Regions from separate parts of the Homo sapiens genome. Here region 1 is linked to region 2. The links are contacts of gene promoters, found by promoter capture Hi-C in human tissues and cell types (Jung and others, 2019). All regions are on one chromosome and are shown on one strand. Each heading gives the region's core, a stretch centred on a gene start or on the middle of the fragment in contact. The rest is flanking DNA. Distances are from core to core; before and after follow the strand shown.

Evidence for each region. The method cuts DNA at HindIII sites, captures the fragments that hold promoters and counts their contacts. A contact is called where the count stands out against the background at its distance.
Region 1: a fragment that was not itself captured here is called in contact with the fragment with the promoter of NLRC4 in region 2 in 2 of the 25 tissues and cell types used here (liver and mesendoderm cells).

What each region holds. Positions count from the first base shown.
Region 1 is chr2:31,446,907-31,453,999 of GRCh38, reverse strand. No RefSeq gene overlaps it. Among named protein-coding and RNA genes, the nearest start is that of XDH, 36 kb to the right of the region's middle. The HindIII fragment of the contact is 5,591 bases long and covers 1,708-7,093 here.
Region 2 is chr2:32,262,951-32,269,514 of GRCh38, reverse strand. It overlaps NLRC4 (NLR family CARD domain containing 4), which reads left to right and starts at 4,629. Exons shown (of 9, transcript NM_001199138.2): 1 at 4,629-4,777. The HindIII fragment of the contact is 13,663 bases long and covers 1-6,564 here.

The DNA of each region.
Region 1 (7,093 bases), core at 3,254-5,753, 820 kb after region 2:
GTTTTTGCCTTTAAAATTTTTTTTGAGTCATTATTTTGGCTAAGTAAATGACTTATGGAAATCTGGAATTCTATTTCATAATATCAAATGTTTTAAGCCTCTAACATATTTAACAGGCTTCCCAAAATCAAACTTCAGTTTCAAGGTTGTCTTCCTTGACCTCTAACTTTTGGATGCTACAGAGGGCCCCTGGGTCATCCAAAAGAGAGGTAAATAGGATTATTTGACATGTTTAGTTATGTGGAATGCCAAGATAAAAATAATGTTTAATCTTCTTCAGGTTATATTTTACCAAGAAATTTTAATATATGTTCCAACATGGTATGGGGTTTCTAAAAAATTCTAATGTTTGAGTATATGCTATTAATAATAATTAAGGTTATTATGTTAAGTTATTGTAAATCACAGAAATAACCAAATTTCTTTGTCAATTATGTTTTGACTGTGACTACCTGAAGACATTTTATTATTCGTTTTTTGTTTGTTTTGCGTTCTTCTCTTCCTTCTTTCTTTTCTTCCTCTCTCTTTTTTAGTGAATCATATCTGTGGTGATATGCTTTAGTTTCTTGGTTTTTAATCCTTTGTGTATTCATTGTATGACATTTGGTTTGAGGTTACCATGAGGCTTGCAAATGCTATCCTATAACCCATTACTTCAAGGTGGTAACAACTTAATACCATTTATATAAGCAAACAAACAAGTAAAAAGAAAACTAGTAAAAACTCTACATCTTAACTTTGTCCCCCTGTTTTTCAAGTTTCCATTGTTTTTGTTTATATCTTAAGGTATTGTCTATGTCCTGAAAAGTTGTTATAGTTATGATTTTTGATTGGTGCATGATTAGTCTTTCTAGTTAGGACAAGAGTAGTTTACAACCTATAGTTACAGTGTTATAATATTCAGTGTTTTTCTGTGTACTTACTATTACCAGTGAGTTTGTATCTTCAAATGATTTTTTATTGCTCATTAATCTCCTTTTCTTCCTAATTGAAGTACTCCCTGTAGCATTTCTTACAGGGTGTGTCTGGTGTTGATGAAATCCTTCAGCTTTTGTTTGTCTGGGAATATCTTTATTTCTTCTTTATATTTGAAGGATATTTTCCCTATATGTACTATTCTAGAATAAAAGTTTTTTCCTTCAGCCCTTTAAATATGTCATGCCATGCTCTCCTGGCCTGTAAGGTTTCCACTAAAAAGTCTGCTCTGAATGTATTCAAGCTCCATTGTATGTTATGTATTTCTTTACTTTTGGCGCTTTTAGGATCCTTTCTTTATCCTTGACCTTTGGGAATTTAATTATTAGATGGCTTAAGGTAGTCTTCTTTGGATTAAATCTGCTTAATATTTTATAACCTTCTTCTGCTTGAATGTTGATGTATTTCTCTGGGTTTGGGAAATTCTACATTATTATCCCTTTAAATAAACTTTATACCTCTGTTTCTTTCTATATCTCCTCTTTAAGGCCAATAATTCTTAGATTTACCCTTTTGAGGCTATTTTCTACATGCTGCAGATGTGTGTCACTGTTTTTCATTCTTTTTTCTTTTGTCTCCCTTGACCATATATTTTCAAATAGCCTGTCTTCAAGCTCACTAATTCTTTCTTTTGCTTGATCAGTTCTGCTATTTAAAAACTTTGATGCATTTTTCCATGTGTCAATTTATTTTTCAACTCCAGAATTTCTGCTTTATTTTGTTAAATTTATCAGATAGAATTCTCAATTATTTCCCTGTATTGTTTTGAATTTCTTTGAGTTTCCTGAAAACAATTATCTAGAACTCTCTATCTGAAAGATAACTTATCTCTGTTTCTCCAAGATTGTCCCTGGTGCCTTATTTAGTTCATTTGGTGAGATCATGTTTTCCTGCAAGGTCTTGAGACTTGTAGATGTTCATCTGTGTCTGGGTATTGAAGAATTACTGGGTATTCATTGCAGTCTTTGCTGTCTGGGCTTGTTTGTACCCATTCTTCTTGGGAAGGCTTTCCAGATATTCAAAAAGACTTGTGTGTTGTGATCTGAGCTATATCTGCTTTAGGAGACATCCCAAGCCCAGTAATGCTGTGGTTCTTGCAGACTCATAGAGGTACTACCTTGATGGTCTTGTAAAAGATCCAGAAGTATTCCCTGGATTACCAGACATAGACTCTTGTTTTCTTCCTTTACTTTCTCCCAAACAAATGGAGTCTTTCTTTTTCTTTCTTTCTTTTTTCTTTCTCTTTCTTTCTTTCTTTTTTCTTTCTTTCTTTCTTTTTTCTTTCTTTCTTTCTTTCTTTTCTTTCTTTCTTCTCTCTCTCTCTCTTTCTTTTCTTTCTTTCTTTCCTTTGTCTCTCTCTCTCTCTCTCTCTCTCTCTCTCTCTCCCCCCCCCACCCCGAAGCTGGGTGCAGGGTGACATAAGCACCCCTATGGCCACCACCACTAGGACAGTGCTGGTTCTGACCTCAAGCCAATACAGCATTAGGTCTCACCCAAGGCCTATTGTAATCATTACCTCATTACTGCCTATGCTTGCTCAATGCCTTAGGGCTCTGTGATCAGCAGGTGGCAAAGCCATCCAGGCCTGTGTCCTTCCCTCCAGGATGACATGTTACCCCAGGCCTCAGGCAAGTCCAGAGGTGCCATCTGGAAGCCAGGTCAACAACTTTAGAAGTCTATCTAGTGTTCTGTTGTACTCTGATTGAGCTGTCCCCCAAACCACAACATATAGTTCTTCCCACTCTTCCCTCCCCTTTCCAAAGGCAGAGGAGCCTCATCCCATGGCCACCACCAACACAGACACACTGAGAGTGCTACCAGACTACCACCTATGTTCCTTAAAGACCCTATGGCTCTTCAGTCAGCTTGTGGTGAATGATGCCTCGCCTGGGACTCACTGTTCAGGGCAGTGGGTTCCACTCTGCCCCAGAGCAGATCCAGAAATGCCATCCAAGTCCTAGGTCCTGGAATTGGGGGCTCCAAGAGCCTGCTTGGTGCTCTACGCACCTATGGCCTAGCTGGTACCTGAGGTGAAAGACAGAGCTCCCTTTATTTTTCCCTCCACTTTTCTCAAGCAGAAGGAGTCTCGCCCCATGGCCACTACAGCTCAGAATGTGCTGAGTCTCACCTGAATCCAGCTAGTCTCAGAGTCTCACCCAAGGCCCACGATGTACTACCTGGGTATTGCTGGTGGTTATTCAGGGCCCAAGGCTTCTTCAGTTAGCAGGTGATGAATCCTGCCAGAAGTAGGTCCTTCTCTTCAAGGCAGTAGGTCCCTTTCTGGTGTAGGGTATGTGTAGAAATATCATCTGAGAGCTAGGACCTGGAAAGGGTGTCTCATGCCTCTGACCAATGCCGTAATCCTGCTGTGGCTGAGCTGGTATCCAATGTGCAAAACAAAGACCTCCCCACTCTTACCTCTCCTCTCCTCAAGCAGAAGGAAGGGAGCTCTTTTGGAGCCATGAGCTGTGCAGCCTGGGGTTAGGAAAGGGGTGATGCCACTCCCTTAGCCACTCTAGCTGATGTCTCAGTAGGTCATGTTCCCACTCCTCCCCTACCCAGTACACAGGCACTGGACCTAGTTCAGCACTAGGACTCACCTAGAAGGTTCAGACTTTGTGGCCTAGATTGCCATCCAAGTTAATTTAGGGCCCCAGAGCACTTTAGATCATGATGGAAAGGCTTGTGGGAACTCAAGTTCTGACCACTGAGATTGGTGATTCCTCTCTGGCTAGGAATGTTCACTCCATGGGTGGGTGTCAGCTGAGTTTGGTCCAATTTTGCTTTCTGCTATAACAGGGCAGAACTGAGTTCAATGTCTCACAAATGCTGCACTCTCCTTCTTCCCAACATAGAATCGCTCTCTGCATCATGCTGTCACTGCTGGATATGGGGAAGGGGTGGCATTGGTGATTCAGTACTGCTTTTCCTACCTCTTCGATACCTCTTTCAGTGATGCAAAGTTAAAACCAGATACTATGAGTGCTCACCTGTGTTTTGATTCTCATGAACGTACTTCTTTGGTGTGTAGATAGTTGTTAAATTGGTGTCCTTCTGGGAGCATGATTGATGGCGCCTTCTACTTTGACATCCTGCCCCATGCTACCTCCTCTGTGACTTCTAATCTTAATTACAGCCTGGGGTGTCCACTGTCCAATTTCCTAGGCATGAGAGGCAGCAAGCAAGGCAGTGACTTTTTGTATCTATAGCTACAGTGACAGTCTCAAAGGAGTCGTTTCCATGATGGATGAGTTCTATACTCCTGGGGATTATTCCAGGAGGACCAGTCTAGAACCTGATCCTTAAGCCCCTACAATGATTTTGAAAATATCTAATTCTCTGAATTAAGTCCCTTCCTGCTTAAAATTCTCAAAGTAGTTTCTACTTTCTGAACCGAAGAATGGAACCCATAAAAAGACATAAGAGTTGTTGCCTGGGAAAGGCCAATTGACCCATCATGAAGAAGCCTCACATTGCCAAGTGACATTTACCTTGGTGAATACACTGAGTTCCAGTAAAGGCCCTTGGCTTGCGATCTTAGGACCCAATATACTAGAGATGATAGGGGTTAGATGCTCAGTAATGCTAACAGAGCTATCAAGAAGAAGATTTATAAAACCCAAATGCTGTTTTAATTATTTACAATGAGGAATGTGTTATGAGGAAGACTAGAAGCATATTGGCCTGACCAGCACTTTTGCTGATTTGTGATCGAGACACATGAGAACTCAATTTTTCAAAGGATTCTCATTGAGTAGGTGTATTAGTCTGTTTTCATGATGCTAATAAAGACATACCTGAGACTGGGAAGAAAAAGAGGTTTAATTGGACTTACAGTTCCACATGGCTGGGAAGGCCTCAAAATCATGGCAGGAGGTGAAAGGCACTTCTAACATGGTGGGAGCAAGAGAAAATGAGGAGGAAGCAAAAGCAGAAACCTCTGATAAACCCATCAGATCTCATGAGACTTATTCACTATTATGAAAGTAGCATGGGAAAGACCTGCCCCCATGATTCAATTACCTCTCCCTGGGTCCCTCCCACCACACATGGGAATTCTGAGAGATACAATTCAAATTGAGATTTGGGTGGGGACACAGCCAAACCATATCAGTAGGCAACGGAAGCAAAAGAAGAGCCACCACAGGGAAGGACTTGCCCCCTGGACCAGATTAACCAAGGGTCCTGGGCACCCTCTCCCCTGGACAGTGCTTGAATGCATTTTCCAAAATGGTGTCTCTGGGCTCCTCTTTTTCTGTGCTTTCAAAGCAGATCATTTTCCCTTCTGATCCTAAACATGGAGGTGCAGGCAGGCAAGGGGGTAAATTGCAATGTGAACACTGATTACGCCTTCCTAAGTAATCTGCCAACAAGAGACTCAATCTGAAGAGTTTTCTCCTCAAACAGAACTTTGGCCTAATTTCTGTTTAACACTCATTATCTTCAGAAAAGTGTGCAACAGCTGAGCTAAGGTGAGCTCTAGTCAGGAAGACTAGGCTTAATATTGATAAACAAGAAATAAACTCTACGTCTTTAAGAAGAGGCTGTATTTAACAAAGCATCCGGCTGTGCTATTTTCTGACATGAAAGAGTAGCCCTCGGAGAATTTCCTAGATTGGTTGGCATCAGTCAAAGAAGACTAAATCATTCTTCACAAATAACGAAAGCAAAATTTTGAGTGTTCAAGGGCAACTTCGAAGCAGACGAGGTGAGGACAGCACCTCTCCAACCCCACCCTGCCTCATGATTCCTTCCATCTTCCTCCCCTCACCAAAGACACAAGGAATAACCTAAGGAAAAAATAGAGGGTGTGTTGGGAAGAGGTCCTAGCAAGATGCACAAAACAGAGAAGAGAAGGCAGATGAGAAGTTCTATATTCAATCTTGGGGAGTTTCTCAGGACTGTGACTTCTCTGCTAGTATTCCAAGATCTTCACTACATCCCTACTCTTCATATCTCCATGTATGAATGATGCTTGGGAAAATGTTTTCAAAAAGGGACTGAGTGCTCCAGGTTTGGGTTTATGTAAGGTAGAGAAGAAAAGAGCTGCAAGAGGGAAGATACAGCAGAGAACAAGAATTCTGTGACAGGAGAAAGTTGAACCAAGTGATGACCAGGAGAAATATTAACATAAGTCTCTAAGAATTCCTAGCAATCATAGTGAAAGAAGGGTGGAGAGAGCTTGTCATATGCATGACAGAGTCATTTAATCCACTTTTGTTTAAATCTCAAAGGATAGGGCAATTGGGATGGCCTGGAAAACTTGGGCCAGAATCAATGCAGTCAAAAACTTGGGCCAGAATAAATGCAGTTAACAGAGAAGGAAGGGGTTAAGTAGAAGATAATGTATTGTAAAGCCTTGTGTCTTGCATGTAGAACAGATATTTCACCTTCTTAATATTCTTCTTATCCACTTGAAAATTGTCAATAACTTGACTTTCCAGAAGCCAGAGGAAAAGCTTTTCCTCTGGCATTTCTTAGACTCTTGTCATCCACCCCATGTTGTCTGACTGGCCAATGTGGTTGCCTTTTAATTTCTAAAAGCATCCCTGCACACTCTTCTCACTGTACACGAGGTCACGTCAATTCGTGCTTCTCTGACTTAAAAGAAAGCACAGTACCTCCTCTTTGTTCTTTAATTCTTAAAAGAATTCTGATGGAGAGCAATAAAATTTCAGCCTAGTAAAGATACTAGGGTCTTAAATACTTGATGAAAGGCCCTTTCTTTTGATAGGAGAATATCTTCTTCCAATTAGAAAAAAACAAACAGATTCTTAAGGTTAAGTCACGTAGCTTCTTGCCTGGTGCCCACATGAGAGCTTCTACGGACTCATGTGAGTGAAGTCCTGTGGTAGAAATGATTTCTTGTTACAGAAGAGGACAAAGCTGAGCATGAGGAGTGGAAATAGTCAGACAGCTATGTGTGCTCTCTGGAAAGTTCTACGAGGCTGCCAAATGCTTCCCTTGAAAGAGTGAGACAGAGTGCCTATAAAAAATCATGATACCAGGCTGTCTAAAGCTTTTAAGTGCCTTAGTCAGAGCCAAAAATTCTTATTCATCAGAAAGGATTTTGTGGGTAAAAGGAAAGTTTTGGACTAAGTTTTTTAAACTTCTTGAA
Region 2 (6,564 bases), core at 3,380-5,879:
TACTCTCAGTAGCCCTGAGTCCAGCGACCCACAAATCTAGAGCATCAGTGGATGGTGGGGGTACACCCTCCTGCCTAGCTTCTGGAGGCTTCTCTCTGTAGCACTGAGGAAGTCTGGAATTTTCAGTCCTCCACTAGAGCTGGGAGTAGCAGAGAGAGAGAGAGCCAGTGTGTCAGGCAGGGGTGAAGAACATGCATCCGAAGGCTGAGATGTAGACTGCCGACTTGGAACAAGAGGAGGAGGTAGCCATATCTTAGCAACCTGGTAAATGACTGCTACCTTGGGGATGTTAGTATCATAATCTGGGAAACTGCCCAAATACTGGAATACAAATGCAAGGAGTGCAAAAAGTATGACGAGACTGAGCGTGGTGGCTCATGCCTGTAATCCCAGCACTTTGGGAGGCTGAAGCGGGCAGATTGCTTTACACGAGGAGTTTGAGACCAGCCTGGCCAACAAGGCAAAAACCTGTCTCTACTAAAAATTACAAAAATTAGTCAGGCATGGTGGCACATGCCTGTAATCCCAGCTACTCGGGAGGCTGAGGCAGGAGAATCGCTTGAACCTGGGAGATGGAGATTGCAGTGAACTGAGATCATGCCACTGCACTCCAGCCTGGGTGACAGAGTTAGACTCTGTCTCAAAAAAAAAAAGCATGACTAATTCCCCTAAAGAAGTAACTTTATCATTAACTGACTCCTTGTACATGATTTTCATTTGTCATAGGCATCTGAAACATGTTCCCTCTTCCCTATGCCATGCCTCCGCAAATAACACAGTTATCAAACCTATTTGAAATTCTTTCTGCTTCTTGCCAAATATCTCTAGTTGTTTCAAATGTTAATTTTAGAACAGGATTTCAGACTCCTTGAGAGTCAATCTGTCCTCCAGCATTTAGTTTATTCTACCAAAGCCTCTTTTACATAGAGTATCTGAATTATTAGTCCAATTTTAAGGGGTGAGGATGGGGAATTATATATATTTGTATACTTATAAATATTTGTATTTATATACTTACATATAAATATATGTATTTATATAATATTGTATATAAATGTATTTATATAATATATGTAAATATATGTAACTTATATTTATAAATGATATATTTATATATGTATATGTAATATCATGTATAATATATACTTGTTATATATAAATTATAATAATATACATAATATAAATATAGATATGGCAGAGGATAATAGGCACAATGTACTTCTATTTCCTAAAGGAGGTAGTCAAGAAGATTTAACCCTCCTGGCCAGGCACTGTGGCTTACACCTGTAATCCCAGCACTTTGGGAGGCTGAGGTGGGCAGATCACCTGAGGTCAAGAGTTCGAGACCAGCCTGGCCAACATGGTGATATCCCATCTCGACAAAAATACAAAAATTAGCCGGGCGTGGTGTCAAACATCTGTAAGCACAGCTGCTCGGGAGGCTGAAGCAGGAGAATGGCGTGAACCCGGGAGGCAGCGGCTGCAGTGAGCCAAGATCACGCCATTGCACTCCAGCCTGGGCGACAAGAGTGAAACTGTGTCAAAAAAAAAAAAAAAAAAAGCCCGTGCATAGTGGTGCGCACCTGTAATCCCAGCTACTTGGGAGACTGAGGCAGGAGAATCGCTTGAACCCAGGAGGTGGAGGTTGCAGTGAGCTGAGATTGCAGCCACTGCTCTCCAGCCTGGGTGACAAAGTGAGAATCCGTCTCAAAAAAAAAAAAAAAAAAAAATTGACCCCTCTTTATTAAGGCATATTAGGAAGCTGCCTGCCTGATTTGGCCCAGTGACTTCCCTGCCACTAAATATGTAAGCAGAAGACTAACAGAATTCCAGAATAATTATTTTTGGAGTTATGAGTTACAGGCCTCTAGGAAGAAAAGTATCGTGACTTTTTCCTTCCCTCCGCATTAAACTGGGAGTTAAAAGCATGAGTAGCTACATATGCTTAAAGTCACAGAATAGTTAGTGCCATGTGGTACTTCACAGATGGCATCTCAGCTGATATTCACAACAACCCTGGGGCAACTTGGGGAACCATCATTGCACTGCTAAGAAGCTAAGGTGACTTGTATTAGTCACAGGAAGGAACCCAGACTTGAACTCAGGTCTACTTGGCTCCAGAGCTCTGGGCATTTCCACTTTACCACACTCCTAGGATAATAAGCGTTGGGAGAGACTGGGAGGAAGAACATAAGGGCAGGGGACGTAACTGTTGGAACGTAGGATGCCGAAGTTACTAGTTAATTACCTATTTGAAATGCCCTGAAAACACCTGACTGCAAATCCACTCACAAAGGAAACTGGTGAGGCAGCCCAGAAGATGTACTTGAATGAATATGGATATAATTTTGCTTATTTTACTATGAAATACTACTGTATTAGTCTACTGTGGTTGCTGTAACAAAATATCATAAACTGGGTGGTTTAAAACAACAGAAATTTATTCTTTCACAGTTCTGAGGACCAGTCCAACATCAGTATCATGGGGCTGAAATCAGGGTGTCAGCAGGGCCACACTCCTGGGAGCTTTAGGGGAGAATCCATTTATGCCTCTTCCAGCTGCAGGTGGCTGCTGGCATCTTTTGGCTCGTAGCCGTATTACTCGAATCTCTGCATTCATGGTCTTACTGACTTCTCCTGTCAGTTTCAAATCTCCCTCTGGCTCTCTGTAATAAGGGACCATTATTAAGGGCCCACCTGGATCATCCAGAATTCTCTCCCCATCTTCAGAGCCTTAAATGGAACATATCTGGAAAGACACAATATTTACAGTTCCCAGGGATTAGGATTTGGGATATTTGGGTAGCCACTATTCAGCCTACTACAACCATATTTCTACATTTTCCCTTTTTATTCTATATTACATCATTTATTAGTACAAAAGTAATAGGTGTTTGCTATGAAGAATTAGAATATACAGGTTGGGCATGGTGGCTCCCGCCTGTAATCCCATTACTTTAGGAGGACAACACAGGTGGATCACTGGAGACCAAGAGCTCAAGACCAGCTTGGCCAACATAGCAAAACCCTGTCTCTACTAAAAATACAAAAAATTAGCCATGGTGGTGGCCCACACCTGAAATCCCAGCTACTTGAGAGGCTGAGGCACAAGAATTGCTTGAGCCTGGGAGGCAGAGGTTGCAGTGAGCCAAGATTGAGCCACTGCACTCCACTCCAGCCTGGGCAACAGAACGAGACTCTGTCTCAAATAAATAAATAAATAAATAAATAAACAAATAAAATAAAAAATAAATAAGTTGATAAATAAAATTAGAATATACAGATAAGCCAAAGACAGAAATTTAAAATTGCTTATAATTGTATTCCCCAGCAATAAGCATCATTACTATTTTGGTGGCTGTCTTTGCAGTTTTTTCTCTTGAACATATGTTTATATATAGGTTTCATTACAATTTAAAAATCTAGCTGATAGTGTAGCCCTCAATCTCACTTCAGAGAAACCCACCTCACAAGTTGGGAAACACTGACACTGATGCCCCCTTAGAAAACCCAGGATGTAGACATTTATTTGCCGGGAAACTTTGGTATCCCTCTATGGCAGATAGGCTACTGTCAGAATGCTCTTTTTGAAATAAGAAGTTATGTAACACAAAGACATGTTCCTGGTAGTTTATGCAAAGACAGAGGAAAGAGTATGCAAGAATGTCATCCTCAAGGGAAGTGCAGAGAGATTTCTTCAGTCCTCAGCTGAGTATAAGCTGGCCTCCTGGAGTCTGTGAACACAAACGTCCAATGTGAGTGTGCCTGTGCAAGCCCCTGGCTGTTTATACTCCGGAGGGTGTCCCCGTGCGTCATCGGTGGAGTGGACCAAAACTGGTGATCTGTTTGCCCTGTGTGACCTTGCCCAGAACCCTGCTGACTGAGAGAACACATCTGCTGGAAGTCCTCTGGGATTCAAGGTACAGGGGTAAGCATGACCTTGAATGCAGTAGCAATGTGCTTTAGCCAACTAAGCTGGCTCATTTCATTTACCGCTCTATCTCCCATGGTTAAGCATTAAAAATACATGTTGTGGCTGGGCATGGTGGCTCACGCCTGTAATCCCAGCACTTTGGGAGGCTGAGGCTGGCAGATTGCCTGAGGTCAGGAGTTCGAGACCAGCCTGGCCAACATGGTGAAATTCTGTCTCTACTAAAAATACAAAAATTAGCCGGGCATGGTGGTGCACGCCTGTAGTCTTAGCTACTGGGAGGACTGAGGCGGGAGGAACGCTTGAACCCGGGAGGCAGAGGTTGCAGTGAGCTGAGATTGTGCCACTGCCCTCCAGCTTGGGTGACAGAACAAGACTCTGTCTCAAAAAAAAGAAAAAAGAAAGAAAAAGAAAAAAAATATATGTTGGATGTTCAGAAGACTTTGTTTCATTTTAAGGTATAGAATAAGTAACTCAACAGCAATGAATTCATATGTTGTGAACAAACAGGAAACAAATGAGTAATTCCTTTCTTGACGGAATTTCTAGCTCTTGCATCTTTTACTCTGAAGTTCTACTTCTTCCCCGGCTACTCCTGCCTACACCCATCTTCCCTTTCTGAACTGGTAGTACTTGTGTCCAAACCACTCTTACTGTGCTTTGAAAAAAAAAAAAGGAACTGCTCAGCAGTTCCCCTCTCTGTACACTGTCCTCTCACAGAACAAGAAGGTATCTGGTCTACAAGAACTCGAGGCCTCACTGAAACGGAAAGCAAATACAAAGAAACTTTATTTTAAAAACATGTCTTGGTCTCCCAAGAAGAGGGCAATTGGATTGCTCAGCCAGGTACTGTGGGTAGAGAGAATGGGATTTTTAAGGTCTGGGGCCCAAATATTAAAATCTGGGTTTACATTCATTTAAAGCTTGTGTCTGGGATGTACAAAAGCCTTAACATTGACGAGTGTGATTTGCATGCCTGGCTGGATTTGCCTGCCGAGAAACCTTTAGGGGTGGTTAATCGGGTCTGCTGGGGCTTCATCAGGTTCAAGGGGTACATGTACCCCTTGGACTACTGTGAGATGGAAAGGACTTTGGAAACACTTTTTGGCATTACAGAAAGGAAACTCACTCTTTTTTTTTTTTTTTTTTTGAGACAGAGTCTTGCTCTGTCACCCAGGCTGGACTGCAGTGGCGTGATCTCGGCTCACTGCAACCTCTGCCTCCTGGGTTCAAGCAATTCTCCTGCCTCAGCCTCCCAAGTAGCTGGGATTACAGGCACCCGGCACCGCGCCCCAGCTAATTTTTGTATTTTTAGTAGAGACAGGGTTTCACCATGTTGGCCAGACTGGTCTCAACTCCTGACCTCGTGATCTGCCCACCTCAGCCTCCCAAAGTGCTGGGATTACAGGTGTGAGCCAACGTGCCCGGCCAGGAAACTCACTCTTGTTGCTAAGACTGTTGTTAGAATCACAGATGATCAAAGCTGAAAGGAACGAGGTGGACTACTTAGTCCATCCAATCTCCCAAGTTACTGATGAGAAACCTGATATTTGGAGACAGAAGTGAAGGAAATCACCCTTTACGGGACACCTATTTCGTGATAGGGTCTTTATGTACATTATCTCAGTAGATCCTTGCAGCCTGGCTTTGAGAGGTGGAAAATGTGGTAGAGAGGAGTTAAATGTCCTGCCCTACATCACACTGCTAATTGTCTACAAAACTAGGATAGAACCTGGTCAGCACACTTCTTAACTGTTCACACACTTTTATAATATTAGTCGTATTAATGTGTTTAAAATACCATAGACTGGGTGGCTTAAACAACAGAAATTTATATTCCCACAGTTCTGGAGGCTGCAAGTCCAAGACCAAGGTGTCAGCAGGGTTGGCTTCTCCCCACGCCTCCCTCCTTGGCCTTTTCTCTCTGTATGCACATTCCTGGTATCTCCCTTTGTGTGTCCCGATTTCCTCTTCTCATAACAGCCTCATTTGAGCTTAATGACCTCTTTAAAGGCTCTGTCTGCAAATACAGTCACATTCTGAGGTTCAGGGCTTCAACATATGGATTTGGGGGAAGCCCAGTTCAGCACATAACACTAATATTAACATGTGAGATTGCTGAAGCCTATTAAAGACCTAAGAACATTCTAGTCTAGAGCCTTTTTACTAGAAAGGAAGACAGATAATACCCACTGACCATCTTTGTCACAACTACTTTCATGTTTAATCTTCACAATAGTCCAGGGAGGTGAATATTATGCATGATTTGGAAAGCAAGATTCGGAAAGGCTAAGTAACATGTCTAGGGATACTTACCTCATAAGGTGCAGAGTGAGGATTTGAATTCAGATCTGCAATGCCAAAGCCCACACACATTTTCCATTTCTGTGTGCTTCCTGTCTGCTCCTAATTATATGTACTCTTTCCCTTATTTTATCTGTGAGGTGTGGGAATGACCCCATAGACGTGGGTTATATGGGTCCAGAGAAACTTCAGTTCTCTGAGGAGCTCATGTAACCTTTTTTAAGAAAATGCCAATTTTAGAATTAGTACTAAATATTATTTTCCAGCTGGGCATGGTGGCTTATGCCTGTAATCCCAGCACTTTGGGAGGCCGAGGCAGGCAGATTGCC